Regions from separate parts of the Homo sapiens genome. Here regions 1, 2 and 3 are each linked to region 4. Evidence: promoter capture Hi-C in 16 types of primary human blood cells and fetal thymus (Javierre and others, 2016). All regions are on one chromosome and are shown on one strand. The core of a region is centred on a gene start or on the middle of the fragment in contact, and the rest is flanking DNA. Distances in the headings are between cores, read along the strand shown. Region 1 has its middle 56 kb from the start of TLR10. Region 2 overlaps KLF3 (KLF transcription factor 3). Region 3 holds the start of TLR10 (toll like receptor 10). Region 4 holds the start of PGM2 (phosphoglucomutase 2).

The links. Contacts are between HindIII fragments. The CHiCAGO score rates a contact against its expected background, and 5 or more counts as called.
Region 1: a fragment that was not itself captured here is called in contact with the fragment with the promoter of PGM2 in region 4 in 1 of 17 cell types (fetal thymus); the score reaches 6.1 in fetal thymus.
Region 2: a contact is called between a fragment that was not itself captured here and the fragment with the promoter of PGM2 in region 4, in 1 of 17 cell types (fetal thymus). The highest score is 6.2, in fetal thymus.
Region 3: a fragment that was not itself captured here is called in contact with the fragment with the promoter of PGM2 in region 4 in 1 of 17 cell types (activated CD4 T cells); the score reaches 5.7 in activated CD4 T cells.

Annotation. Positions count from the first base shown.
Region 1 is chr4:38,725,749-38,729,020 of GRCh38, reverse strand. No RefSeq gene overlaps it. Among named protein-coding and RNA genes, the nearest start is that of TLR10, 56 kb to the left of the region's middle. The HindIII fragment of the contact is 6,828 bases long and covers 1-3,272 here.
Region 2 is chr4:38,667,260-38,670,715 of GRCh38, reverse strand. All of the region lies in intron 1 of KLF3 (KLF transcription factor 3), which reads right to left. Among named protein-coding and RNA genes, the nearest start is that of KLF3-AS1, 4.1 kb to the right of the region's middle. RefSeq lists enhancers at 377-946, 3,354-3,403, 2,593-3,442, 3,443-3,456. The HindIII fragment of the contact is 204 bases long and covers 1,861-2,064 here.
Region 3 is chr4:38,782,245-38,785,698 of GRCh38, reverse strand. It overlaps TLR10 (toll like receptor 10), which reads left to right and starts at 2,709. Exons shown (of 4, transcript NM_030956.4): 1 at 2,709-2,778. RefSeq lists an enhancer at 3,388-3,454. The HindIII fragment of the contact is 1,301 bases long and covers 1,376-2,676 here.
Region 4 is chr4:37,825,305-37,828,793 of GRCh38, reverse strand. It overlaps PGM2 (phosphoglucomutase 2), which reads right to left and starts at 2,108. Exons shown (of 14, transcript NM_018290.4): 1 at 1,981-2,108. The coding sequence starts at 2,061. RefSeq lists enhancers at 1,436-1,935, 1,936-2,437, 3,470-3,489 and a silencer at 1,926-2,225. The HindIII fragment of the contact is 6,567 bases long and covers 1-3,489 here.

The sequences.
Region 1 (3,272 bases), core at 136-2,635, 900 kb before region 4:
CCTCTCTCAAAGGCAAACACCCTCCTGCCAGGTAGCAACTGGATGCCATGCAGAAGTATTCTCTCCTGGAATCACGTTCCTGGGTATTTGTCCTCAGGACCAGCCAGCTTGGAGTTGAGGTCAGTTGAAGTTCAAGAGGGCATTTATTCTGAGTTTTACTGTTTATTGATTTGCAGTACTTACAAGCCAAAGTGTTTGTCCTCCTGGCCTTCAGGGCCAAGGCTAAGGCCACAACAATGCAGCCCTTCTTCAGTGGCCCTGTTACCTTCCGGGAGCAGGCAGGGTGTGGCAAGAACTTCTGGGTGGCAAGAGCTCCAGGGTGTCGTGAGAACTCTGGGTGTGGCTGCCCAGGGCAGGCCTTGGAGAAAGCAGTTAAGAAACAAGCAACAAGGCTTGGTACCCCAGATCTGAATGTTGGAGCCACCCGTGGTTCTGGCTCTGTTATGGAGTAGCTATGGGGACTCAAGTTCTCTGCCCCTCACTTTCCCCGGCTGTCCAGCACAATGGCAGCAGCAGTAACAGTAACAGTGTACTTTTACTGAGTACTTACTGTCCACACGTGGGACTTCGTAGCTCTCCCTTAACGGTTAAGACCAGCCACTGCATCTGCGATCTATACCCACTCTTACTAGCTTCGTGACCTTGGAGACACCGCTCCAGCCCTTGTTCCTCAACTTCTTAATCTGTAAGAAGTGGGGCAGTTAAGAGCGCCTTCCTCTTTGAATTGCAAGAGGATTAAATGAGAAAGCCCAGGAATAGTTCCCAGCCCAAGGTAGTAGTATGAGCAATACTATGATAAATTTCACATTCATGATCTCATGTCATTTTCATAGCAACAATGTGAAATAGGTTCTCTACAGGGGAGAGGCTCAGGGCACGCAGAAAGAAGCAAGCAAGGCTGAGATTTGACCCCAGGATTATATGGTTCTGAGTACCACAGTCTGGATCTGAAATCACTGGGCCTTACTGCCTTTCATTTGCCAACGTCACCTGAAGAAACACTTACTGAGCAGCTTACTAGGAGCCAACCCGTTGTGACCATATTGAATTGGTTGAAAGTTCCAATTGAATACAGTTCTTAAGCACTAATGGAGCTTCTTCTGACCAGGCACTGGGCTGGATCCTGGCTCTATTGCAGTGACAATGGGGAGTATGTAGGCCCACAAGAAGATCCCAGGCAAATCTGCAAACAAATAACAGCTCCTGTTAAGATCGAGCACCTTTGTAAGTCTCCATGATTCTCTCTGCTTGCAACTCCATTTGGAAAATTTCTTGAACTTCCTTATCTCCTTTGAGGGCCTTAAATAAAAACATCCACCTTCTTTTGCTTGAGATTCCCATTTCTAGATTGAAGTTTAAAATGAACTGTGGGCTGGGCGCGGTGGCTCACGCCTGTAATCCCAGCACTTTGGGAGGCTGAGGTGGGTAGATCACGAGGTCAGGAGATCGAGATCATCCTGGCTAACATGGTGAAACTCCGTCTCTACTAAAAATACAAAAAATTAGCCGGGCGTGGTGGCCGATTCCTGTAGTCCCAGCTACTCGGGAGGCTGAGGCAGGAGAATGGCGTGAACCTGGGAGGCGGAGCTTGCAGTGAGCTGAGATCGCGCCACTGCACTCCAGCCTGGGAGACAGAGCGAGACTTAGTCTCAAAAAAAAAAAAAAAAAAAAGAACTGTGAAGGCCAGGCATGGTGGCTCACGCCTTTAATCCCAGCACTTTGGAAGGCTGAGGCAGGCAAATCTTATGAGCTCACGAGTTGGAGACCAGCGTGGGTAACATGGCAAGACTCTGTCTCTACAAAAAATGCAAAAATTAGCTGGGTATGGTGGTGTGCACCTGTAGTCCCAGCTGCTCAGAAGGCTGAGGTGGGAGGATGGCTTGAGCCCGGGAGGCAGAGGTTGCAGTGAGTTGAGATTGTGCCACTGAACTCCAGCCTGGGTGATAGAGCCAGATCTTATCTCAAAAAATAAAATAAAATAAAATGAACGATTAAATGAAATGACACAAATAAAGAAACTGGAGAGCTGTGTATCAGTTTACCCTTGAAAGACTAGAAAGATTTGGCTGGGCACAGTGGCTCACACCTGTAATCCCAGCACTTTAGGAGGCCAAGGCAGGCGGATCACCTGAGGTAGGGAGTTTGAGACCAGCCTGACTAACCCCATCTCTACTAAAAATACAAAATTAGCTGGGCGTGGTGGTGTGTGCCTGTAATCCCAGCTACTCAGGGGGCTGAGGCAGGAGAATAGTTTGAAGCCGGGAGGCGGAGGTTGCGGTGAGCCGAGATCGCGTTATTGCACTCCAGCCTGGGTAACAAGAGCAAAACTCCATCTCAAAAAAAAAAAAAAAAAAAAAAAAAGACTAGAAAGATTTGATAAGGGTTCAAGGAAAGGAAAGGAAAGACCCTTATTGGGTATATACTGCTCTGTGTAAGGGCCTCCTTTAGGAAATGGGCTTTGGAAAATTGCTTCTAGATTCTGGAAAAGAGGTCAGGAAAATGTCACTCACTGAGAAACTAGGAAGAAAGCAGTTAATAAGGTGGACTATTTGCAGGTATAAACCATCCCCAAGATGAGTTGTAGACTGATGCCCAGAGGAGACTCAAAATACCAAAATCAAATCCATGCATTGATGAAACATGTATATTTACAGAACACCCTGTAGGTACTGTGTTAGTTAGGGTTCTCCAGAAAAACCAAATCGTGAGACTAAGGTGTGACTAAACTGCAGTGAGTGGCATGCCCAAATTTAGCACTGTCCACCTGGGATCTAGTGACCAGGGAACCCAAACCACGAATGAGGAGGCTCTTCTGGTGCCTGTAGAAAAATCACTAGCACTGTGGGTAAGAACACGGACCCGGCAGCCAGATTGCCTCTTACTGTAGGAAATGCTCACCTTGAATAAATGCTTTACCCTCCCAAGGCCTCACATTTTGGAGCTCTTGGGGCGGCGGGGGGTAAAGTACATCTACTCCATAGATTTGTCATGAGGATGAAATGGGCCATCAGGTGTAAAGTGCTTAGAACAGACCTGGCACATAGGAAGCCTCTATAAGCACCAAAGTGATAAAAAAAAAAAAATTTCCCATTTCTGGAGAGGTGTAACAAGCTGATATGGTTTGGTTGTGTCCCCACCCAAATCTCATCTTGAACTGTACTCCTATAATTCCCATGTGTTGTGGGAGGGACCTGGTGGGAAGTCATTGAATCATGGGGGCGGCTCCCCCATACCATTCTCATGGTGGTGAATAAGTCTCATGAGATCTGATG
Region 2 (3,456 bases), core at 713-3,212, 840 kb before region 4:
TCTTCTAAAATGCAAAGTAAATGTGAAAACTTTGGGAGCCTGGGAGAGAAAAACTCCCTGGTTTGGAAACTCAGCGGAACAGGAACTCGATCTTACAAATGAAAGAGGCTTTGGAGTGTGAAGCTTTGGAAGGTACCAGGGATGCAAAGTACAGGAACAGATAAAGGAGTGGATTTCAGTGATTACACTTAAACAACAGTGGTAGTAGAAAGAACAGCATATAGGCCAGAGAAAAAACCCCACACTTGATTTGCAGGTCGCTCTCCAGGGCAGAATCCGCTGACCTCAATACTCATTTGATCTCTTATGTCCAGATTTGGCCAAACTCCACTGATTTGGGTTGAGACTAGCTCTGGGCCATCCCTGGCAGGATCCACAAGCCTTCCAGAGACTGGCAACCATCCTGAGGATGTCCCAGACTAAGCAGGGCAATTCTGGGTCCTCCTGCAAAGGGTCTGCCTCAGGGAGCGCCCCCTTACAGGAAACAGGGTAAGAGCCAGACCCAGGGGTTACATGAAATGCATGGGCTAGAGGGCCACTTAACTTGCTCTCTTCTGTCTCCAGCCCTTCTAAATAATTAGATGGAGAAATGATAATGAATTCAGCCTGCCGACACAATGGAGTGAGTTTCAAAAACCTCCAGGAGCCTGTTTTGCTAAAGAAACAATTTTACTACAAACTCTCTGGCCAACGGATACAAAATGCACAGATCATTTTTTTATTTTCTTACTGTTCCAGAGAATATGGTCACATTCATTACAGAATAAGGACAAGGCCAGTTAAGAGGACATCTTTTTTTTTTTTTTTTTTTTTTTTTTTTTTGAGACAGAGTCTCACTCTTGTTGCCCAGGCTGCAGTGCAGTGGCACAATCTCGGCTCACTGCAACCTCCACCTCCCAGGTTCAGGCAATTCTCCTGCCTCAGCCTCCTGAGTAGCTGGGATTACAGGCGCCCACCACCACGCCCGGATAATTTTTGTACTTTTAGTAAAGATGGGGTTTTGCCATGTTGGCTAGGCTGGTCTCGAACTCCTGACCTCAGGTGATCCACCCACTTCGGCCTCCCAAAGTGCTGAAATTACAGGTGTGAGCCACCGCGCCCGGCCGAGGACACTATTTTTTTGCTTTGGAAGAAATGAATCCTAGTTTTGGTTCAGAAACTGTCAACAGCATTGTGCCTCTTCTATGACTACTAAATTTCAAGCAAAGAGAGCTGAGTTGGGGGTAAAAGCAGGGCTATTCCCCGCCTTCAGACAATGCTGTCCCTTATCAGGGCAGACTGCTGTCTGGTTTCCTGTCTCCAGCTCGGGCATGACTGCTTAAGATGAGAAACATGGTCTAAGAAAGGAACAGAGTGGTCTTGAAAATGAGAATGCTAGCGACCACCATAACCCTCTTCCAACTCACTCCCAAGAGGAATTCTGACTAGAATATCACATACTAGCAAACTAGATATCAATTGTTTTAAGATTCTAGGGATTTGCTTTTTTAAAAAGCTAGAACCAATGATAAATGATGCACTTCAGAAAGAATCCAAGTTCCAGAATAATGTAATTGTAATTCCTAGTACCTTAAAGAATGAGGTTGTGTGTATTTTATTTTTCTTAAACTCAACTGGGTGTGAAAACAGAGAACAAGAAATGCTGCCTAAGAAATCTGTCGTTTTATAGCAAAAATGTTGATTTGAAAATATTAAGAAGGCAAGTATCTCAAGGGGCGATGGAGACACAATGAAATTAAATTAGGAATCATGATTTATATGGTTAAGAAATTAAAACTCTTGTTCCCATCTTTCTGGTAATCATAGCAACTATAAGATAGGATAATTTTCCCCAACTATTCAGCTTAGCATTTAGAAGCTTGCAGAATTTTTTTCTGATAGAATATATTAGACCCTAATTATCTCTATTAACCACTTCATCTCCCTGCAAAAGAGAGAAGAAAGAATTTGGGGAAAGCCAAATAAAGACTCTGTTTACCAAACCTAGTTAGATTGTTAACAACTTTGGAACCAAAACAAACAAAAAAACCTGCTTCGATTGGAGTTACTTATGAATTTTAAGCTTAAAAGTCTCTTGTCCTACAGGTCAGCTAAGTATTTCCAGCTGCTTTTCCCAAAGGAGAAAGAAGTTATTGGGACTTCTAAAACTCCCAGCTTTTTTCATAGAAGGTTATCAGTAGCCAACTATTTGATACTAATAACTCTCTTAATATCATATTTTATATTTTCCATTTATACATAAAGAATGTGGTGGAATGTGACATTTAAAACGCACCATTATCATCAATTTTGGGGAGAAGAGAGCCTGATTTGCTGCTTCAGCAACTCTTTAAATTAATTCCACAGAGATGCTGTAGATGATTCCTTTTGATTAAAAAAAAAAAATCCCCAAGTAAGTTTACAAAAGCACTTTCCAAAACTTTTCTTTTTCAAGCAAATATTTCCTTAAATCTTAGTTTCTCAAGAACCAACAGAAAACTAATATTAAGGCAGGTCTTAAATAGTTATCCTAGAAATTCATTAACCCACAACTGATAGAATATTTTTAAAAAATGAAAAATATTATTGTAAAACAAAAATGAGAAGAGCATTCTTCTTGTTTTCAAAATAGAAGATTAAAATTTTCCAAACAATCTAGCATTAAATGAATTTGTTAATGCCAGTTCTCCTTTGAGCTTTTTAATTCTTAAAAACGGGTTGGAAATGAGGTGTAGAATATTGCACAGTGAAATCTTTGTCCTTAAAACATTATCCTGATATTTAAATCTTTGTCCTTAAAAAGAAATAATCCCGGGATTTTCTCAATGTCTTAGGCTTTGCTTCAATGATTTTTCTAAAGATTTCTCCTTCCAAACATAAGCAAGACTTAAACTAAAGCCAGGCTGCCAACATTGCTTAAATTCTCCATCCACGGAAGCCACCTGGAGCAGCCTGGGTTAAACGTGAACGAGGGTGGGCCACATCTTTCAGATAATGCTAGGTCTTCTAAACTGTAAGGTGTTAATCCTGATCCAAAATTGACAGCTTCAGGGCAAAATGCCTATCTTAAAACAAACGCCCTAACCACTTCAACACAAGAATTACAAACAAATACAAACAAAACTCCTTTAGGTTTCTTTGCCAGGATGGACCCACGTTTCCCCAAATCACAATCTAGCAATAAAAAATTTAAAAAGGTAAAAGCATTTATTCACCCAGACAAATGCAGTGGAGCAAAGGGTGTACGTAAAAAGGTTAACTGACTTCTCATTATGACATAACACAGGCGTCTTAAGCAATATCAAGTGTGTAGAGACATGATAACTCCATGGGTGGGGATACGGAGTTTAGGGGCAGGGACCTCAGCCTGGTCTGGGCTACTGATCTACCAGAAAACAGCCTGAAACAGGAAAGAGCACACATATGCCACTTGGAATGTATGACGCAAACCCCAGCCTTGAAACAAAGAACAGGAAA
Region 3 (3,454 bases), core at 777-3,276, 960 kb before region 4:
CCCCTATTGGATGATGACCTTGTGCAAGTTTTTTGTTCTCTCTCAACCAGTTTTTCCATCTGGCGAATGGGAATAAAGTATATGTTCTATGTAGTTTGTGGTGGTGATTAGCCAATATCTTGTGTGCAATACTATCTGCACTTAGGAAGTAAATGCAAGCTTAATGATGATGATTAGATGACACAAGCAACAACTCTACTTGGCTCAACTTGTTTTTGGTAAACAAATGTAAAAACACTTAAAGAAAACTTCTCCGTTTTCTGACAATAAAGTATTTAAACATGTTGGTCTCTGGGGAAAGGAAGAATATGTCTTTGGACAACAAAAACCCCAAGTGATTATTTTTCCTTGAGAGGGCAATATACAGTGTGAGTGTGCTGATCATAGTAATTTGAGAATTTCTGAAATGAAAAAGATTTTAGAGCTTAGTTCATCCAACAAGCTGGGAATCCCCTCTCCAACGTTCCTGACGGGTGTTCCTGTCTTCCTACGTTTGTGTAATATAGACATGTTTGTATATGTTTAGGTGAGGAGCAGAGCTGGTTTTGTTTTGCTGTTGTTTTTCTTTTTACAGTTATTTATATTTTGTGTGATTTCCCCCTACAATATATGTGGAAATACATGGACTACATTTTAAATTTAAAAACCCCAATATGATAGTTAAAAAATGTATTTTAAGAACCCACCCACTCCCCAATTTTATAAGACATAAATCTATTATAATCATTCATGTTTAAATTGATCATTCCTCCTGTAGACAAATCCATCTGGAAATTTTCTTCTTTACTCGTGATCTCCAGCAGTCACCTAAATCTTAAGTCAAGTATGAAAAAAACCTCAAAAATGTTGCTTTAAAAATTGATCCGTACTTTGCGATCTACATTTTAAAAAATACCATGCTTATTTTACCACTTCACTTCAAGAAAAGGCCTCTAGGTCAGAGGTCTCCAATCTTTTTGGCACCAGGACCAATTTCATGGAAGACAGTTTTTCCACAGACCGGGTTTGGAGATGGAGGAGAGATGGTTTCGGGATGATTCAAGCACATTACATTTATTGTGCACTTTATTTCTATTATTATGACATTGTAATATATAATGAAATAATTATACAACTCACCATAATGTAGAATCAGTGGAAGCCCTGAGCCTGTTTTCCTGCAACTAGATGGTCCCATCTGACATGATGGGAAGCAGTGACAGATCATCAGACATTAGATTCTCATAAGGAGCACGCAACCTAGATCCCTCCCATATGCAGCTCACAGTAGGGTCCAAGCTCCTATGAGAATCTAATGCTGCCACTGATATGACAGGGTGTGGAGCTCAGGTGGTAATGCAAGCGATGGGGAGCGACTGTAAATACAGATGAAGCTTCATTTGCTTACCCACCACTCACCTCCTGCTGTGTGGCTCGGTTCCTAACAGGCCATGAACTGGTACCTGTCTGTGGCCCAGGGGTTGGGGACCACTGCTCTAGATAACTCCTTTCCACCCTCTTCCTGCCTGATTGCTGAAATTATGGAGTCACCATTCCTACTCCTGCCCATCATCACATGACTGCCCCACCCAACTGATGAAAGGGATAACCGACCTGCACCTTGAAGAAAAGCATCATCAAAGAGCTCTAAGATGCTGTGGAAAACCAGTATGGTAGTTCTGCAAAAAATTAAACAGAATGGTCATACGATCCGTGAATTCCACTTCTAGGTATAGACTCAAAAGAATGTTAAGTACCAACTTAAATAGATATTTGTGCACCACGTTCACAGCAGCATTATTCACAAGAGCCAAAAGGTGAAAACTACCCAAATGTCCATTGATGGATGAATGAATGAACAAAATGTGGGACGTACATACAACAAAATAGTATTCAGCCTTAAAAAAGGAAGGAAAGATTCTATTATTCTATGTAATAATAATAGAAATGATATGGATGAACCTTAAAGACATTATGCTCAATGAAATAAGCCAGTCACAAAAAACCAAATATGGTATAACTCCACGGACATGAGGTACCTAGAGTAGTCAAATTCACACAGACAGAAAGTAGAATTATAGTTTCCAGGGTCTGAGGGAAGGGGAAAATGGGAAATTATTTTTTAATGGCATAGAATTTCAGTTTGGGATGACGAAAAATCTTTGGAGATGGGCAGTGGTGGTGGTTGCACAACAGTGTGAATGTACTTAATTAATGCCACTAAATTGTACATTTAAAAATGCTTAAGGTCAGGCGCGGTGGCTCACACCGTAATCCTAGCACTTTGGGAGGCCGAGACAGGCAGATCACTTGAGCTCAGGAGTTCAAGACCAGCCTGGGCAACTGGCGAAACCCCGTCTCTACAAAAAATACAAAAAACTTAGCCAGGCCAGTTGGTGAGCGCCTGTAGTCCCAGACATTTGCGGGACTGAGAAGCCCAGCCTCTTGCGGGCTTTAGCGCAAGAGGTCAAGGCTGCAGTGAGCAGTGATCACACCACTGCACTCCAGCCTGGGTGACAAAGTGAGACCCTACCTCAAAAAAAATAAAAATAAAAATAAAAATAGAAAGATGGTGAGCATGATAACTCCTATGTTATGTGTATTTGACCACAATTTAAAAAAGTGCTAAGATTATAATGAATATATATAACATGCAATACCAGTAGCATGCAGAAGAGGGCGGATGGGGTTTAAGCTTTACAGAAAACCTCGATTCAATTCCCTCCTGCAGCCAATTCTGACCGTGTCAACGAATCATCCACGCACCTGCAGCTCTGCTGAGAGAGTGCAAGCCGTGGGGTAAGAACCTTAGCTTTGTTTGTTGTAACTCTCATTAAAAAGATATAAGGGCTGCATGGGTATTTTCTAAAAAGGAGATAATTTGAGCTAATATTGAGGGGAGGGAAGTAGGGTTATTTAGATTTTTAGTATTTACTATTTTGTCTAGATTAATGATTAGTGACCTTGGGGCTATTGATCTGAGGAATTTCTTGCAGATGCTTGAGAGCGTGGGTTTCTTTTCACTGATTGCGGATCAAACCTGGTCAGCTCTTCTATTCAGATTGAACGGTCCTATGCACTGTGGCAAGTTTTTTCTAGCTCTTATTTCCCCACAGCGTATGTTAACCTCTGCTGGATGAAACCTTTGGCTATTTAAGGCATATTTGTTGCTCCTTTACCCCGTTGAAAAGTTCTGCATTTGTGTTACCTGTTTAAAAGTAGGGGCAGATCTGATGGATCTTGTACAATGCAGTTCTTATTCCGTTTCCTTCAGAAGTGGACAAAGAGGGCCATATGTGGTTGCTGTAAAGAAGAGGATGGTTAACAACCTGTGAGCATTTGGTTTCTTGATAAGCTTTCTCCCAGACCACCTACACTGAGCTATTAATTAGGAATAGGATGCACTTCGAGTTTTATTTCAATTCTTGTGAACTTATAACTTTCCTAAGAATATATTTATACATGTAGGCAAAGT
Region 4 (3,489 bases), core at 859-3,358:
CAATAAATATTAGTGGAGTGAATCAGAAAACATGGACTTCACTGCCACACTCAATATCGAGTGATCCTCCCTTGTTCATAGTGTAGGTCTGGAAAATCTTAATTGGTCTTTGATATCTATGAAAGACTAAGTAGCCTGAGAGAAACAAAGGAGACAGACAGGTAAGAATGACAAGTCAAGAGTACAGCAGGATCAGAATCAGCCCTGGCAGTGAGCAAAACTGACAGCAGAGAAAAGAGCAGGGATGAAGGCACGGTGGAAAGACAGAGGGCACCTGCCAGGGCGCCTTGCCAGTCGCCGGGGGTAGTCTGACTAGAGGGCTGCAATGCTTTTAGCTGGTGGGAGGTTCACTGGAGAATGAATGGGCTTCTTCTCAGGTGCCAGTCTCAAAGCAAAGAAGAAATTAACAGAGGATAGAACATGAGAAGTGATTAAAAAAAAAAAAGGACATCTCATCTCTACCCAGAGAAATACAATTTTTCTATACACAGATGCAACACTGTGTAGAAATTAGATTGTTTTCTTCTTCTTCTTAGAGAAAGTGCATTATGAACTCTGACTTCAAAAGAATTCTGTACTCTGCAAGCTACAAGTTATCAGAAATGGAAACATTTTTCTTCCCTTGTGAATCACAAGGTTATCTTCCCAGGAAAAGAAAAACGCCCCCAAGGAGTTGCCAATAGCATCCTGGAAATGGGATTTGCTGACATTTTATTTGTAGGGGCCAGAGAATGGTAAATAAAGACAAAGACCTGACCCCTACTGACCTTGTAATCTTCTTTGTTCATTCAAGTATTTCAGTGACCTACTATGTGTCATGCACTATGCCTATGCCAGGCACTACAAACCAAGGTAGTGAGAATAGAGAGGCCTGGCCACATAATTTATGGAGGTCCAGTGCACAATGAAAGTGGGTGACCTCTTGTTTTACCAGTAAGACTTTCAAGACAGGACAGCAGGACATTAAAACAACAGTGGGCCCTTCAAGGAGCGCGAGTCCTGTGAGACTGCAGGGGTCTCTCGCCCCTGAAGTCGGCCCTGGAGACAGACATTAAACAAACCTACAAACAAGTGTTTTTGGAGTTTTTTGTTTTTACCATTTGTAGTAAGAGCTATAAAGGAAAATAACAGACTGTTTAGAGTGAATATTAGGGATAAATAATTTAACGCTTCGGAGCCAAGGAAGGACTGACTCTCTACGTAAGCCACATTTAAGTTCAGGCACAAAATATGAGTCACAACGGGAGAAACAAGTTCAGCAGGAGAGCAGCGAGGGACATTCCGAGAAAACCTAACAGCAAGCAGAACAGGTCGAAAGGGCGAGACGCAAGTTTATAGAGAGGAGAGGGAGTGATGTCCAGAGCTGGGTTCCTGATTCTAAGAAACGGAATGAAGAGAGAGAAAACCGTGCTGTGTCCCAGGTGTGCCTCCCTGGCAGTCAAAGTTCTAAGGGGGACTCCTGAAGCCAGGCGGGCCCACCCGGGAGGACAACCCACGTTTGTAACCAAGCCCTCGGGATGGGAGGACCGGACCAGAACGCTGCTCTGCAAAGGTCTCAGCGGCCAAAGGAATACGCGGGACGGAGCGATTCTGGGTCCATGGGGATGCACAGCCGACTACCGACGACGAGCCAGCGGTCTGAGTGACAGTAAGGCGTGCGCCCCTCAACTAGACAGCGTCCAGGGTCTGGCCGCGCTTACACCACCCTGGCTCGCTCCTCTACTCCGAACTTGCAGTCCGGCCGGCCGGATGGCTGGTTTCGTCCGGGGACAAGCCTTCCCGGCCTAACTCTGAACGTGCCGCATGCCGGCCAGGTCGAAGGAAGCCTAGCAGCGGCCGTACGCTCCTGGGTCTTCCCGGGGGAGAAGCGGGATGCACTGGGCGGGAAGGCAGCTCAGGCAGAGCAAGCAGCGCCGCGCCTGGAGAGGGCAGAGCACCCGGCCCCGCTCCAGGCGCTCCCCGCCTGCTGGTGCCCCTCACCTTGTCCCAGCGCAGCCACTGGGCGGTCTCCTGGTCCAGCCGGGCGTCCTCGCCTAGACCGCTGCCTTCTGGAGCCGCCATCGCTGAGCTTGTGCTACCGCTGCAGAGGGAAGCAGGCGGTGAGATCTGCCTTCCGGCCCGGCCCCAAGACGTGGAGGCGGAGGCGGGGGCGGGGAGAGCCGCGGCGGAGCCAGTCGGTCCGGGGGAAAGTGACGCGCGCCGCGGCGGGCACGCCTCCTTGCCGTTTGCGGGTGCGCTGCAGGGGGTGGGAGTGAGCGAGGAGGAATTGCGGGGCTAGGGTGGGTTGCTGGAACCTGGCACGTGTGAGAAGGGTTTGCCATCGTCTCTGATGCATCCAGGCTACAGCCAGCCGTGAGTTCCTGCTGCGCGCCAGGCACATGTCAGATGCTGGGATACCAGGAAGTGCACCCAGATAGGGGCCTGAAGACTATGTAGAAACTCAGAGGGTCAAGAACAGCCAGAAAAAAATCTTGAAAAAGAAAAGCAAAGTAGGAAGACCAGTGGAACATAAGATAGAGACCAGAAACAAAAATACACGTGTATGGACAATTTATTTCAGAGGCGGGGCTGCAGAGCACAGGAAGGAACTATTTTTGGTTAATGGTGCTCGGTCAAAGGGATATCCACGTAGGGAAAAGAAAAAAGGGAACTTGGCCCCCTACCTCCCATCACACACAGCTCTGAACTCCAGATCAATTGTATCTCTAAGTGCGAAAGGTAGTGTAGCAGGAGGAGCCGCAGACAAAACTCCTCAGACACCGGATTAAAGAAGGAAGAGGTTTTTATTCGGCCGGGAGCGTCGGCAGACTCGCGTCTTAAGAGCCGAGCTCCCTGAAAAAGAAATTCCTAGCCATTTTAAGGGCTTACAACGCTAAGGGGTCTGTCTACGTGAAAGGGTCATGATAGATCAAGTAAGCGTGAGGAACGTGACTGGGGGCTACATACATCAGCTAACAGAACAAGAAGTTTTACAGTGCTTTCTCATACGATGTCTGGAATTTACGGATAACGCCAGTAGTTTTGGTCAGGGGTTAATATTATTATTATTATTTTAACCACCAGGGCCAGGTGGTGGCGCCAAGGTCGTCTAGCTATTTATCTTACTTCTGTTTTTTTCCAACTTTTTGCTTTCTCTCTTTTCTCCTGTCTTATAAACTAGGGAAAAGGGGAGGTGGGGGAGAAGCTGGGAAGGACAGCAGAAATGGTGGTCTCTTTCCATAGTAGCGTGAAACTTAGGGAAACTAACATAGGAGCACATCTTCCTGACGCTGGTATCACCAAGCCATAAAGAAGATGCATACCCATAAGCATAAAAAAGCACGGGCAAGAATATTTCTAGCAGCATTATTTGTAAAAGCCTCAAACTGGAAACAACCCAGATGACCATCGACAATACAATGGATAAATACTTGGTAGTATATCCATACCAATTCATATAAATAAATCATGGCACATTGATAGAGCAATGCAGGTGAACTACTGTTATAC